2 separate regions of the Homo sapiens genome follow, and region 2 is linked to region 1. The links are contacts of gene promoters, found by promoter capture Hi-C in blood cells and fetal thymus (Javierre and others, 2016). All regions are on one chromosome and are shown on one strand. The core of a region is centred on a gene start or on the middle of the fragment in contact, and the rest is flanking DNA. Distances in the headings are between cores, read along the strand shown. Region 1 holds the start of SESTD1 (SEC14 and spectrin domain containing 1). Region 2 overlaps LINC01934 (long intergenic non-protein coding RNA 1934).

What was found. The method cuts DNA at HindIII sites, captures the fragments that hold promoters and counts their contacts. A CHiCAGO score of 5 or more calls a contact.
Region 2: a contact is called between a fragment that was not itself captured here and the fragment with the promoter of SESTD1 in region 1, in 1 of 17 cell types (M2 macrophages). The highest score is 5.3, in M2 macrophages.

The regions. Positions count from the first base shown.
Region 1 is chr2:179,263,295-179,266,229 of GRCh38, reverse strand. It overlaps SESTD1 (SEC14 and spectrin domain containing 1), which reads left to right and starts at 1,398. Exons shown (of 18, transcript NM_178123.5): 1 at 1,398-1,731. RefSeq lists silencers at 1,297-1,916, 1,927-1,996, 2,105-2,268 and an enhancer at 2,597-2,666. The HindIII fragment of the contact is 5,018 bases long and covers 1-2,935 here.
Region 2 is chr2:181,247,760-181,250,694 of GRCh38, reverse strand. The region is part of intron 2 of LINC01934 (long intergenic non-protein coding RNA 1934); the gene reads right to left. Among named protein-coding and RNA genes, the nearest start is that of MIR4437, 56 kb to the left of the region's middle. The HindIII fragment of the contact is 3,598 bases long and covers 1-2,935 here.

The DNA of each region.
Region 1 (2,935 bases), core at 149-2,648:
CAAAAAAAATGAACTAGACAAAATCCCTGTCCTTTTAAGGAACACACAGTCTAGGAAGAAAAGGCCACCAAGCAAAGCAACAGGAAAAAAGCAAGTATTAAAGATTATCATAGGGAATACTGTAGATAGACGATTTTATGAAAGCAGAGAGAAAAAGAGTATTTAATTCATTGTAAATGTGTGGGGTAAGGATACAGATGTGGTGAAAGGAGATGATGTCAGGGAAGATTCCAAGGAGGAAGGGATGCATTATCTTCATTATCTTGAAGGACAATAGGAGTTCAACTGGTTAAATGAGGGATGGATTTCAGGTGGGGGAAAACTACAAGGGCACAAAGACAAAGTCTGTTGAATTTGTGTGATACGTAGATATATTAGGAGTTGAAGCTGGAGCCAAGGAGGTCAATAGATCAGATTTTAAATGGCTTTGTAAACCATGGTAATGAGTTTGAACCTGATTCAACCAGGTGGAGAGACTTTGAATGATTTTAAAGAGGGACGTTTCATGCTTAGCTCTGTCTTTTTGGAGCATTCTCTCTGGCAGTTATATGGAACTGAAGCAGCAGTGAAGTTAAAGGCTTGACCTAGAGTGGCAAAGAGGTGGAAGTCATGGAGACAGACTGATATTCACAGAATTAAGAGGAAGAATTAATCCACGGGATTTTAAGTCAGAAAACTTTAGTGGAGAGAAATTTGGTTGCTTAGTTGTTGGAATAGGAAGATTTTATCAACGGAATTAGGTGATACTGAAGTGAGTGGCTGAGTGAATAATATGGAAGTCTTGAAATTGGGACCACACAGCTGCTCTGATCTGGTGTGAATTTGCTGATGACTCTTTTGAACTGAATTCAGGAAATGACATACAAATGATTTGCGCAATAAAATGAAAACAAGGACTCTTAAGTCAGTATACTTGGAGAAAAATAACTAGGTTGGTAAAAATGGGGAAGTAGCCATTATCAGGGAGCCCCATTGTGGATTAATTTTGGACTGTCCAGTGGAAAGATCCTCAAAGCAAAACAAATGCCCTGAATCCAGCCCTTCCTCACCGCAACCCTTTCCCTTTCATCTGCCTTCATCCTTCAGCCACACCACCGCTTGGCAGTGAGTACTTGGGAGCAGCTCTTGGAGACTTTGTACTCGAACCTTCGAACTCCAGCATGAGGCCAGAGGAAATAAATGACCTGCCAGGGTGTCAAGTAACGGACCCTCTCTTAAGCCCAGACTTCTGACTCCAGATCTAGGTACCCTTCCACTCTCCAAGACTGCCTCCCGCCTGGGGAGCCTGGGCCTCGGCTAGGGGTGGGGACGGCAGGGTCCGTCCGGAGCGCCAGAGTCCCACTCGCGCCCAGCCCTCAGCCCCAGGCCCGGTTGGACGCCCCGCCCCGCCCCGCCTCCTTCCTCCTTCCCGCGCCGGGCGGGTTGCTGTACCGCCGTCACCCGGGCGCGCGCGGGGTCGCGCGGACGCGGCTCGGGCCGCGGGTGCCGAGAGGTCGCCGGGCCACCCGCACCCCCGCTCCCCGCCTGACGCACGGAGGGGCCGGGACGCGATTTGCCGCGAGTGACTGGAGCCGCAGCCGTCGCCGCTGCTGCCGCCGCCGCCCGGGCCCGCTCCGCCCCCAGCCCGCCTTCCTCCCGCCGCGCCCTCCGCCTCCGCCCGCACCTCGCTAGCGTTCCCCTGTCTTCCCCAACGCCCCGGAGCCGCCGGCCGCTAGCGTCAGCGCCAGCCAGGTGAGTGTGGCCGCCGCTCGGCCCGGGCGGGAGAAGCGCGCAGGCCCCGCGGCCGGGTGGCCGGCTTGGGCCGGTGCAGTCGGCGGCGGCGGCGGTAGCGGGCCCGGCTTTCTTCCCCTGCGCGGGCCGCGGGGCGGAGGGGCTACGCAGTGAAGGAGGGGCGCCCCCGCCCCGCCACCGCCTCTGCTCCCAACGCCCCGACCGCCCCCACCGCCTTGCCGCCACAGACAAAGCGCCGGAGGTGGGAGCCCTGCGGGCCGCCTTTGCCTCCGCGCCGTCTGCCGGGTGCGGCCGCGGCCCGCAGAGACCGGGCCGCGCGCTTTTCCGTTCCTGAGCGCCCTTGTTCATTTCTGGGTGAAAGGGACCCGAATTGTGCAACAGGTTTGGGCGTTAGTCCTTATTTTCCAGCGGGTCTCTTTTGCCAGCGTGCAGGAACCAGATGTGGCTCCCTGCTCTCGGGCGAGTCCCGCGTCCAGCGCCCGCGACTGGCTCCTTTGTGTGACCGGTGACCGGCCCTGTCGGGTGGGTGGAGGACACGGGCTCGAGGCCCCAGGGCTGCGCCGAGGCTCCTGGACGCCTCCTCAGGTCGCGGGGCTTGGCTTCCACGGGCCTGCCAGAGGTTAACATCCCTCCAGCGTTTGGGAGAGTCACAAAGGGGAGGAGAGAGAGGGTTGGCCAGGGTCTGTGGTTGTGTTTATTTTTCTATTTTAGGTAGACTCATATTAGAAAAGAGCCGCAGTCTGACCAGCTCTTGAGGGTACGGGTGGGATTTCACCCTGGGATGCACGGTTTGGACTTGGCTGTTGCTCTGACAGCCCCCGTGGTTTTCTTGGTGCTTTGACATCTTTCTCTTACACACAGACATCGCGGGAGAAGTTGGGAGTGCTGCCGAGGGAGTAACTAGATAGCAGCTGTTTGACAGGTCGTCTCTTACTTCACGTTTTGCTTGTGTCAAGCATGCCCACTATGTATCCCAGCATAGCTTGGCAAACCGTCAAATTTAAATTGCCACTCAAAATCCTAATCCTTATACATACCTACATACACAGACACACATATATCTATATACTTTTTCTGTTTTGGCTGGCTAAATCTTATTAATGTGAGAATTTTTCCTCCCAAGGAAGAATGCATAATAAGGTACAATTTATCTTTGGTTACATACCTTGGTTAAGTTATGCCAATACCTAGCTGGTTTCATTGG
Region 2 (2,935 bases), core at 129-2,628, 2.0 Mb before region 1:
ACATAATAAAGCCTTCTAATTCCCTTCTCACATATTCAGTCTATATATCCCTTGTATTCTGGATATCAGTTAGGCTCCTAGAGGATTTTTGGGCTAGGAGATAGATAACCTACAGCAAATTAGATCCCTTCTGAAAAACAACTTAGGACTGTAACAATTCCATAAACTACTTTAGGAAAAAGCAAAGTCTTGGAGATGAGAGGAGGCCCATGGGTGGGGGTTGGGGGGCAGAGCTGGAGCTGGATTGAGCTTGCTTGAGTGACCTCTGGCCAGGCCACTGCTCTGATATTCAGAACCGTTAAATATTGGGCTTCAGTCTTACTGATATCTACAAGAACTTTCTAAAGGACAAGTAAGCCAGCTGTTGCTATTTATGAGACTTCGATAAAACAATCAAGAAAGAAAATATGAACCTGAACAGTTTAATATTACCCATAAATATTCTGCTAATTTACCTCAGCTAATGAGAGCTTCCAAAATAGTTCCTAAATCTTTTGCTGAACATCTGTGCTCAATGTGGGTAGTTATACTACCAAATAATCTCAGTTTTTGCTAATTTATTGCCATGAGTTAAGGTGCTAAAATTACAGAACATAATTAGTTATATGAAAATATATTACGTTTTATTTATTATGGTCTTTTTTGGTAAAACTCAATAAGTATTAGTTTAAAAAATCTTTTAGATAAAAATATCACAGAAATCCTTATAGATGAGGATAACATGAATTACTTGCTTAACTGATGGCATCTCAAGTTGGCATAGCTAATTTTGATTCTCTTTAGGTGAAGATATTCTTTGGCATTCATCATCTTTTCTCCCTTCTAGCTCAGTTTGGTCTGCTCCTTTATTTTCCAAAACTGAGCCAGGAGGATCATCCACAGCAGGGAATGGGCCTATATATCAAGCAATTAGATCGTTTACTCTGTTTGTAACCTCAAAGCTGAAAGATTATAAACTTCTTTGGTTCTTACAGATGATTTTACAATACACCACCCAAATCATTGGTCCCTGCACTATCTCCCTTGTATATTTGGAGGACATGAAGAGTGAGAGTGACAAAAGTAGCCAATGCAATGACTTTGACTCTTTGTGGTGCAGAAGATCACTAGAGAAGACTCTGCAAAATCCATGGCCCCCAAGTCCCTCCAATAACTATAAATATTTAATCTTCTTTTGAAGTCACACACCACAGATAGTTCTTAAGAGAAAAGATTAAGTTCAAAAGGAATACATAATACATACATACATGCATACGTAATTACAGGAGAAAATGAATCAATTGATTAGTTTGGTATTATTTTTATAAATCTAGGCCTAAAAGAATAAGTATTGACTGGGGGGAAACCCAGTAATTTTGAGGACAATAATGAAATTTTGATATAATCAAAGAGATAAAGGAAAAAGGAGAAGCAAAGATAAATTTGATAGCCAACTTCTATATTTTTTTCCATCATTAAAATGACTGAAAAAGTCACATTAAAGTCTGGGAACTTAATCATTATAGCAAAGAAAAAAAAAAACCCACAAACTCTGAAATCAGGAGAAAAGAAATCCTGAAATTAATACATGTACAAATAAAATGTATATTCTCTGGATAATATAAGGCAAAAAACCTCACCTTCTTTGGTTTGATTCTCAAATACTGAAGTCACAAATATTTTTCTAGCTTTTTTATCTAGATAAGCCTTGACATTTCATTCTACTTTGCAATTTTTAAATTGCATTTTGTTTCTAACAGAACTGGATGATGAGGAAGATGGAGATAGAGGTAATTATTTCCATTCTCCAAATGAATGAATGTTAACAAATTCTATGGAGAAAAATAGAATTGTCTTTTGTTTTTTTAAAAGTTTCTCTTGATTTAATATTAAATTTTAATATACTATGAAGAAAATGCCAATCAGAAATCATCTGAGGAAAATTCATGAAAAGATCCAAAAAATGCTGATAAATAAAAGCAGTGGGGGAAATAGTTCAAATAGATATTAACATATTTCAAAGCTAGCTTTTAAAAATATATTTTTGAACTAGTAAAGGAATAAACAGATATATCAATGGAACATGAAACAAAGATCAGAAAAAAGACAAGCAATAAGAATTTAATATATGGTAAAGTAACACTTCAAATCAGTGAGGAAAAAATGGATTATTCAACAAAATATGTTGAGCTCAAGGGTTGGTTATTAAATATATGTATACATGTATGTGTATGTATGTATACACATACATATGTATATGTAGCTACAAAATGCCTCCAGGTAAAGTTTTTAAAAGCCATAAAAATATTTGGAGAAAATGGATGTAAATATAATGTTTTCTTGATGAGGGAAAGGACTCTTTAAGATTTACAAAATTTAGACACCATAAAGTATGTAATTGGTAGATTTGACAATATGAAAATGTAAAACTTGTCTACATCAAGGAACATCATACATTTTTTTAAAAAAGGAAAAACAGGGACATAAACATTTGCAACATACATAACAGATATCATTTCTGTCTAATTTGAACATCTGAATCTATATGTACATATATATTTATAAAACAAACAATGTCTGGGGAATATTGACACAATGTATCTTTGCCCTATAGGGCAATCTCTGGTTCGTAGTTGCCTTGAGGCACCCATTCTACCTCGCCAAGACTAGTCAATTAAGTTCAGGGGGTTTCTTCCATGCCTTGACACTTACTGTCCCTAGGAACAGAATATGACATAAAGGAGATCAAATCCGACCAGAAGAGAAAGAAGAAAATCTGCCAATTCTATCCTAGTAGAGTGTGGAAAAGGGAAAAGTGGGGAAATAAAACGTCAGGTAAAATTATCTTAGCTCTTCACTCCTGAACCAAAATCCCAGATAGGAGTGGGGTTTTAGAAAGGTGGAGAGAAAAGCCACAGCAGAAGAGTCTTGTGCCTCACCCTCAATTTGAAACTCT